3 separate regions of the Homo sapiens genome follow, and regions 1 and 3 are each linked to region 2. The links are contacts of gene promoters, found by promoter capture Hi-C in blood cells and fetal thymus (Javierre and others, 2016). All regions are on one chromosome and are shown on one strand. Each heading gives the region's core, a stretch centred on a gene start or on the middle of the fragment in contact. The rest is flanking DNA. Distances are from core to core; before and after follow the strand shown. Region 1 has its middle 7.9 kb from the start of TRA2B. Region 2 holds the start of EIF4A2 (eukaryotic translation initiation factor 4A2). Region 3 overlaps ETV5 (ETS variant transcription factor 5).

Region 1 (3,023 bases), core at 276-2,775, 840 kb after region 2:
TTAATTCAAAATCAAACTCTTGTCCCTTTAGCCCTGCCCAAACTCCTTCTTCCTCAAGTTTCCCCATCTCAGTATGGGGCACCATAGACCCTCTTGAGTTCTTGACATCTCCATCCCCTTACCCTATTACAAGTCCACTCAATTCTGGACTCAAAATAGATCTACCACTGCCCTTTTTTCTCTATCTCCTTTGCTATTACTGTGTTGCAATGGTCTCTTACCTGGACAAATGCAATAGCTTCCTAACTGGTATCCTAGCTTTTACCTCCTTCCAACCCATTCTCCATCCAATGGGGAATGTAATCTTATAAAAATAAAAACTGAGTCAAGACATTCCCCCTAATTAAAACATTTCGATAGCTTCCCATTGCATTTATTTAATTATTTATTTATTTTTGAGGCAAAGTCTCACTCTATTGCCCAGGCTGGAGTGCAGTGGCACGATCTTGGCTAACTGCAACCTCTGCCTCCCGGGTTCAAGAGATTCTCCTGCCTCAGCTTTCCGAGTAGCTGGGGTTACAGGTGCCTGCCACCACGCCTGGCTAATTTTTGTATTTTTTTAATAGAGGCGGGGTTTCGCCATGTTGGCCAGGCTGGTCTCGAACTCCTGACTTCAAGTGACCCATCCACCTGCCTTGGCCTCCCAAAGTGCTGGAATTACAGGTGTGAACCACCGTGCCCAGCCCCCACTGCACTTAAATAACATCTGACATCCTTTCCATGACCTGCATAATCACTGCTGACTTATTATGAGTTAGACATTGTTCTAAGGGCTTTTTATGTAAAATAGTAATTCTTTGGATCCTGACAACAAGCATAGGAAGTAGGTATTATTATCATTCCTATTTCACAGATGAAGCCACAGAGGCACAGAGGTTACACTTGCCCAGGGTCTCTCAGAGAGCTACTGTGGAGGCAGGAAACAACCCCAGGAAGTCCAAGCCCTGCTCTCTGTACCACAGTCTCTGGTCCTCAGATGGACCCACTGGGATCCCATGGTTGGGTCTCTCTGTTCCTGGAACCCGACAAACATCCTCACCCCAGTGCCTTTGTGACCTTGCTAATCCCTTCCCAGGAACACAGTTTTCTCTGCTTTTTAAATGGCTGGCTTCTCACCCTCCAGGTCTCCATAAATAGGAATGGTATAATAGGTTATGGCACATATTTGCAACGGAATACCATACAACTGTTTTAAAATATGAGATAAATCTATGTGTACTGACGTGGAACAATATTTAGCATATTTTAGATTGCTAAGTGAAAAAGGCAAGTTACAGAATACCATGTTAAAATTTAAAAATATGAGCGGGGCATGGTGGCTCATGCCTGCAATCCCAGCACTTTGGGATGCTGAGGCGGGTGGGTCACCTGAAGTCAGGAGTTCGAGACAACAGCCTGAGCAACAGAGTGAGACTCTGTCTCAAAAAAATAATAAATAAAAATTAAAAAATAAAAAATATGTATAGCATGATTCCATTTGTTTATGAAAAGAAAATTTTAAGGCTGGGCTCAGTGGCTCATGCCTGTAATCCCAGCACTTTGGGAGGCCGAGGCGGGTGGATCGTGAGGTCAGGAGATCGAGACCATCCTGGCTAGCATGGTGAAACCCCATCTCTACCAAAAATACAAAAAATTAGCCGGGTGTGGTGGCAGGCACCTGTAGTCCCAGCTACTTGGGAGGCTGAGGCAGGAGAATGGCATGAACCCGGGAGGCGGAGCTTGCAGTGAGCCGAGATCTTGCCACTGCACTCCAGCCTGGGAGACAGCAAGACTCCGTCTCAAAATAAATAAATAAATAATAAAAAAATAAAAATAAAAATTTAAATTTATCTATCTAAGGTCTAGAAGGTTATGCACTACATTTTTTAACTAGGGTGACCTCTGAGGAGCGAGACTGGGAAAGAGAGGATAGAAAATAGGGTTTGCATTTTTCACTTTGCACATTTCTTATTGTTTGAATTTTTATCCCCACCCTATATTAGTAACATAATAATAATTCTAAGACAAAACATTTTCTTCATATGTTTAATGTTTGAGCTCTAAATTTTGTTATTTGGGTATTCTAATTTTTATTCTCTTCCTCTCTTTCCCAGATTTATCTTAAGTATCTGGAGAAAGTCTTTTATTTCATTCTTCTCTCTCTCTCTTTTTTTTTTTATTTTTTTGAGAAGGAGTCTTGCTTTGTCGCCCAGGCCGGACTGCAGTGGCGCTATCTCGGCTCACTGCAAGCTCCGCCTCCCGGGTTCATGCCATTCTCCTGCCTCAGCCTCCTGAGTAGCTGGGATTACAGGTGCCCGCCACGGCGCCCGGCTAATTTTTTGTATTTTTAGTAGAGACGGGGTTTCACCGAGTTAGCCAAGATGGTCTCGATCTCCTGACCTCATGATCCGCCCACCTCGGCCTCCCAAAGTGCTGGGATTACAGGTGTGAGCCACCGCACCCGGCCTCTCTCTCTTTTTTTTTTTTTTTTTTTTTTTTTTTGAGACAGAGTTTCACTCTTGTCACCCAGGCCGGAGTGTAATGGTACGATGTCTGCTCACTGCAACCTCTGCCTCCCAGGTTCAAGTGATTCTCATGCCTTGGCCTCCCGAGTAGCTGGGATTACAGGCATGCACCACCACGCCCGGCTAATTTTTGTATTTTTTAGTAAAGACAGTGTTTCACAATGTTAGCCAGACTGGTCTCGAACTCCTGACCTTAGGTGATCCACCTTTTTTAGGGTTCAGAACATTGAAAGTGATTGGTTGTTTCAACTCAATTATCTACAATACGTAGCCATAGTCAGCATAGTAACTCAATGTTGTTCTTAATTTCCACTCAGTCCTAAGCTGGTTCGTGAAGACCTGCCTTAATGAAGTCTCAAAGTTTTTGACTTCCACATTCATACTTCCAAGTAGTGAGTGGGTGTTCAGTCACTTTTTATACAGAGATGCATTAGTTCTCTGAGAGCACTCCTACACCACTCCCTTGAAGATCTCACTTACACAAAGTAAGGTTTCCTTGACTATCTCTATACTAGTAAT
Region 2 (3,043 bases), core at 199-2,698:
TGGAAATAGCAAATGTGGCTGTCTTGCCAGTACCTGACTGAGCTTGAGCAATCACATCATACCCTAAAAAAAGTAGGATACACATTTACCGATCCCACATCAAATTGTCACTTCTACTTCACACCATGTATTCCATTTGGAACATTATGCCCAAATAATCAAGTGATCAGCAATGAGTATTCTCTTCATTTCAGGTCAGTCCCGAAAGATGATTGCCATCATTTCACTTTAAGGAATACAAACAGGTGCTAGTCCCCCAGAGGTTACTTTCCCTTTTATGGTTCATGTCTATGTAGAACAATTTCCTAAAAATGCCAGTTTCTTTTACCTTTAATACAGGGAATAATAGCTCTCTGCTGAATAGCGGAAGGCTTCTCAAAACCGTAAGCATAGATGCCACGAAGGAGAGACTCCTTTAAATTCATATCATCAAAGTTATCAACAATCTCATTCCAGTTGCTCTGTAAGTTAGAAAAAATAATGCACGCATAAATGAGATGAACACACTCACCTTTCCAAAGCTTCAAGATCCACAACCGTTTCTTACCTCGATGACACCATCGGGGTCCATTCCCTCTGGGCCGCCATGTTCTCTGCTGACAAGAATACTGCAGTCAGACACCCCTTCCAGGCCACCTCAACTGCACCTTAAGCGCATAGCCCTTTGCAACCCGTCTCAGCACGTTAGCCTCCCCTGCACAAGCTAAAGCAGCAGCCTCAGGGCGAATATCCACACTGTGCGCCTTCCCTAAAGGTTGGGGCCTGCGGATGCCCGGAAAGGCAGCCCCCCAGGCCCGAGCGCATGGCGATCCCGTTTCAACTGCGGAGCGTCTCGCGAGAGCTCGGAGCGCCGAACTCCGCCCCCAACAATGCGCAAGCCGGGTGATTGACGCGGGCGGAGCGGCCTGGCGAGGGCGATGCCAACGGTTCACCGGCACCGGTCCTGTCCCGTCGCCTCCGCGCCGTGGCCGAGTGGAGACCGCTGCCTCCAACCCTTCCCCAAGTAAAGCCTAGGACCCTCCCCCAACTCGTGTGGATGACCGAAAATAAAGCTTCGGGTCCTGGTTACAGTGTACCGAACTCGGACTGCGCCACGGCTTTTTACTCCATGTTTCCCGTGCTCTACACTGGGAAGGAAAGCAGCCGAAGTTTCGTAATGTCTTAGAGAGGAAAAACGCCCTTTAGCCACTGCTTTCGCACCACCGTCCTATCTCCCCACAATCCGGGCCCTACCCATCATGGAAGCTTCTGGAAGGGCACAGGAGTGCTGTACCCTAAGAAAACGTCCATTAATTTAGAGTTTTTGCCTCCGTGCCATCCACTATCATCTCCCCTGGCGCCCTATGACCTTCACTACAGACCGCGACCGCCAACAGACTGCATACCTGTTATAATCCGCGGAGCCACCAGACATGATCCGAAAAACCACTCAGCGCCCGACTGAAAAGACAGCGGCGCCCAACCACCCGTTTTTTATAGGCTCGTGGCCGGAACCCGTTTCTTGCGGAGGAATTTTCTCGCCGTGCTTCGGTCAGCTACAAAATTGTGATCCTGGGGTCGTTACCTCGGATAAAATCCTAAGCAAGTTGGTAGAAAAACCCAAATGTGGTAATTTCTCGATATTACAGGGTCGCTGGAAATCCTAGGGCCCGGGGTTGGGTTGGGACTCTTTACCTCGCGGCGGAAGAATATAGCTGCGGAGTTAGTTAAACCTCGCTTTCCCCGCCCGCCCTGCTCCTACGGGGTTTCCGCGTCCCTGACGCAGAGGCGGGCCGGGGGAGCCGCGCCGGAGCCGGAGGCGGAAACCGGAGATGCTGTTCGTCGGGCGGCCGGGGCTTCCCGCGGGTGACAGGTCCCGGCTCGCGGCTCGCTGCCGGCACTCAGGTGCGGGAGGGGAACTCGGTTATTCCGCTTGCTCCCACCGCTGTTTAATTCCACAATGAAGACCTGCCTGGCATTTAGCCCGACCGTTAACATCCATTCAGATCTTGGAAACGTAAAATTCCTGCTAGGGAAAATGTCGGCCACCCAGCGAGTCCCGGGAAGTCCGGTTTACCGGTACATTTTGCAGCGCGAGAAGGAAAAATGGAGTGTCATTTGCAGATGTCTCTGGAGTGGCCAATTCTATTCTCATATCATTTCCGGTCTCTCGCTTTCTTTTTAAGAGTGTTACTGATTTTAACCTAACAGGTGTGAGGAATGCCTGAAAAAAATCATAAACTTTTGCAAATGGATAGAAACTAAGCAGTAATTTTCCTTGGAACGCACGAATTTAAATGGACGCTTTGGCAGATACAGCTCTGTGCCGCTTTGGGACTACATCGGTTTTGATTCCGTCTATATTGGTCATTTTTTAAAGGCTGTAGACTTTGCCGATATATAGTGAAATGTTGATTTATTGAAATTCAGAGCAATAATATCCTTGCTGCGTAAACTGCACGGGTCTTTAAGCTCCAGACGTTTTCAATTAGCCCCATCTCAGGTCTCTCGACAAAAACAAAAAACAATATATGTAGTCATTTAACTTTAAAATACAACCCTACCCATGGTGCAAAATATCATCGAGACTATCAGGGTAACATTTTCTCATATTTCAGAAGGCCAACTTAAAGAATCATTACTGGGAAAGCTGACTCAATTTTCTATATTATAGAAGATATTCGGTTCTAAATACTACTTTTTTAATACAAAAATTATTTATTTATTTGAAAATTCTTATCGTGCCAGGAACTAGGACAAAGATTAAGAATACCAAGATGGCAAAGTGGGCCAGGCCCTCAGTCCAGTGGTACTGCTCCTCATTCATCCCTCTGTAATGTTCGAAATCCAGATTTGAGGTGATGCCAGATATTTTCTGAGAATGATGGTCGTCAGACATCCTTGTTGTCTCATCCAAAATCTACTAAAAATATCCTGAGATCTAAGAAATTGAAAAAATACTAAATCGAAAAAGTGACCAACCGTTTGGTTTCACTTGAGCCTTAGGGTGAAAACAATTGATCATAGGGTGATACCAATCAACAATTAACACTTAATCGTTGGT
Region 3 (2,719 bases), core at 20-2,519, 680 kb after region 2:
CCCAGGCGCCCAGGCCCGCTGCGCGCGTGCGTGAGCGCGCCTGCGCCGCCGGGGCCGCTGCAAGGGGAGGAGAGAGGCCGCCTCAGGTGAGGGGGCTTTGCGGGGGCAGGGGGGAGATCGGAAGGGGCGTCCGGCCACTGGTCCGACAGGCCCAGCCGGCTAGAGTTCACGGGCTGATTCAGAATCTTCAAAGTCGGGGTGCAGTAGCTGGGGTGACCCCCCCCGGGTTGACCGCCCCCTCCCCCCGCGGCCCGGTCCGGTTTGGTTCCTGGGAGGCGTCGGGCGGGTGCGGCTAACGGTTCCGGAGCGCGGGGAGAGCGGCTTTCCACACGTCGTGGGGGAGGCGCCCCGGAGCGCGAGTGCGGGGGCTCCCGAGTGGATGGGGGATCGCGGAGTTGCGAGGCTTTCACAGTCTCTGGAGATTCGAGAGCCCCGAGGGGACTTGGAGGCTCGCGAGAAGAGACGCTTGGCGGAGCTCCGCAGTTGGGAGGAGGGGGCGGGAAGCAGTTTGAGGGGAATGTCTGAGAGGCGCTGCCCCCCAGAGCACCGGGAGGGGGTAAATGACACAGGCAAGTGCAGCCTGCGGGGGCGGGGGTCGACCAGGAACTTACGCAGGCCTTGCAAGTTTCAGGTGGTGGAAAGTGGACATCCAGTCGCCCTGCTCCCACCCAGCAGGCTGAGGGCGTCCGGCTGTGCGGCGACTCGAGAAAATCGGGGCGCACCGGAACAGCGGCCTGGGGATGGTGGGGATAACACGGGTGTGGAGGGGACAGCACCGAAAGATGCTGCAGCCTCGCAGCGGATTAGGGTTCCGGCCGCATTTTCAGAGGGTGGAGAAAACTCGGGGGGGAACCGAACTCCTGGTCGACGAGGGGGTGCCAGGGAGAGATGTTGGGGGTGGGGGGATTGGAAGCGGTTGGTAGCGCCGGGCGCCGCACCTCGTTTTTATGAATGTGGGTGACTTTATGAATGAAGCGGGTTTCTTTCGTTGGCTCGCTGCTCCCTGCGGCTTTTTTTTTTTTCTTCCCTTTTTGTGAATGAAGCATTGAGCTTTCTTCCTAAAACGCTGGGGTGAGGGGCCTGCGTCGGAGGCTGGGCGTGCGTTGGAAATGGGGGCGGGGGCGCAGCTGAAGGAGTTTTCATGAATGGGGAAGGCTGAGAATTGGGTGGAAGTGTGTCTTGTTTTGTGAATGGGGCCCAGCGCTAGAGATCCAGTTACAGCCTCTACCTGATGTGGCGGCCGCGGCTCGCTCTCCCATTCATAAAACCGGGCCCGCTGCGCGCCACAGGGGAGGGGCCTGGATCGCGCCGCTGCGCTGTGCTAAAGTTTTCCTGGGGGCGCCCGGGGCGCGGGTGGTGGGGGGGCAAAGGAAGTGGTTTAAACTCCTGGATGAACTCGAGCCTTTCCTTCAGGCTTTTAAAAAAATTATACTTGGAATACAATTTTTCTAACCCTGGAATGCCTCTTTTCCGTTCGTTTATGGCAGTTTATTTCTTTTAATTTTTTAGAATTTTTTTTGCTCTTCCGGGTGAAGTATTTCATCATGAGACTGAAAAATATCTCCCCCTCCCGTCTTCTACTGGTTGTCCCCTTCCTCCTAACACATTCACAAAATGTCTTAGGCCATGATTTAATCTGACAGATTTTCCTAAGCGACAGAGCACTCTCTCTTTCATGCCCCTCAACTCACTGCTGAGGTTTCTCAGATTTTGTATACGGTTTGGTGGCATTTGAGAGAGGCGTTATTCTGAACATTTCTTGTGGTGTTTGGACGGGGCACGCAGGCAGGCTGGCGCGAGTGTTTTTCTAGGAAGTTATGAACTGTGTGCTATTTTGCTCCTCTCTTTCCTTTGACTTTGAAAATATCTGATTCCTTGGGCCAAAGTGCTGCGGAGGATGCTGGCTGTGAAGGGTGTCCTTGTATCCTGCCCACTTATGAAAAATTTGATATGCTACACACAGTGTGAAAAACAAATTGGATGGAATTGCTCACCGGGGGAAAAGTTTCCTGTTTAAAATTGTGTATATGTCAAACAAAAGAAGTTGACCTTTAAGCATTTTGAATTGCTTAGAGCTGGAGTGAGTGAAATTAATGTTTTTCCACCTTTTGTTGACTTAACGGTGTTTTTATTTGAAGAATAAAAGTGTTTAGGAAGATGGTACCTCCCTGAAATTGTTACTTTATTCCACTCACGTTAGGAGAAGTTTTCTCCCTTCTAACCCCACCCTTTTTCCCCAGACTCACACACTTACCCGTCCTGAAATGAGTTTCATTTGGGGGTGGGGGGGTATGTCTAGAAAAAAATGATTCCGCTATATGAAACAGCCTAAGTTTTAAAAGACCTTTGGTAGAGATGCATTGTACCACATGCAATGGAATTAGTTTTTTTAATCCATTACTTTTCATAGACATTTTACTCTTTTAGAAGTTGGAGATGTCACAAATATCTCTGTAAGTAACCAGGGAGATATTTGTGACATTACAGATGCTATATCTGTTTAGTCCTCTTTTAAATAAAGAGTTGTGTGTGAAGATAAGTATACCTCTGATCAATTTATTCCAGGAACTATATATAGTGTTTTAACAGTGACCTACAAAATGCTTTTGGAAACACCATGTATGTCAGATCTTTAATTGCCAATAATTTGGAATACTTAAACCCAGTTTCTCTGCTTCCTGACACTGTACTGTCAAAAATTAAATTATCTCTTTTTTAA

What was found. Contacts are between HindIII fragments. The CHiCAGO score rates a contact against its expected background, and 5 or more counts as called.
Region 1: a contact is called between a fragment that was not itself captured here and the fragment with the promoter of EIF4A2 in region 2, in 2 of 17 cell types (naive CD8 T cells and total B cells). The highest score is 5.5, in naive CD8 T cells.
Region 3: a contact is called between a fragment that was not itself captured here and the fragment with the promoter of EIF4A2 in region 2, in 1 of 17 cell types (fetal thymus). The highest score is 7.5, in fetal thymus.

Annotation. Positions count from the first base shown.
Region 1 is chr3:185,944,387-185,947,409 of GRCh38, reverse strand. No RefSeq gene overlaps it. Among named protein-coding and RNA genes, the nearest start is that of TRA2B, 7.9 kb to the right of the region's middle. The HindIII fragment of the contact is 4,953 bases long and covers 1-3,023 here.
Region 2 is chr3:186,781,982-186,785,024 of GRCh38, reverse strand. EIF4A2 (eukaryotic translation initiation factor 4A2) reads right to left here and starts at 1,448. Exons shown (of 11, transcript NM_001967.4): 1 at 1,386-1,448; 2 at 548-593; 3 at 329-461; 4 at 1-63. The coding sequence starts at 1,414. SNORD2 (small nucleolar RNA, C/D box 2) reads right to left here and starts at 229; the gene lies at 160-229. RefSeq lists an enhancer at 543-772. The HindIII fragment of the contact is 20,029 bases long and covers 1,248-3,043 here.
Region 3 is chr3:186,106,307-186,109,025 of GRCh38, reverse strand. ETV5 (ETS variant transcription factor 5) reads left to right here. Exons shown (of 13, transcript NM_004454.3): 1 at 1-86. Among named protein-coding and RNA genes, the nearest start is that of ETV5, 1.4 kb to the left of the region's middle. RefSeq lists silencers at 1-254, 285-384 and enhancers at 1-396, 1,155-1,214. The HindIII fragment of the contact is 3,357 bases long and covers 1-2,719 here.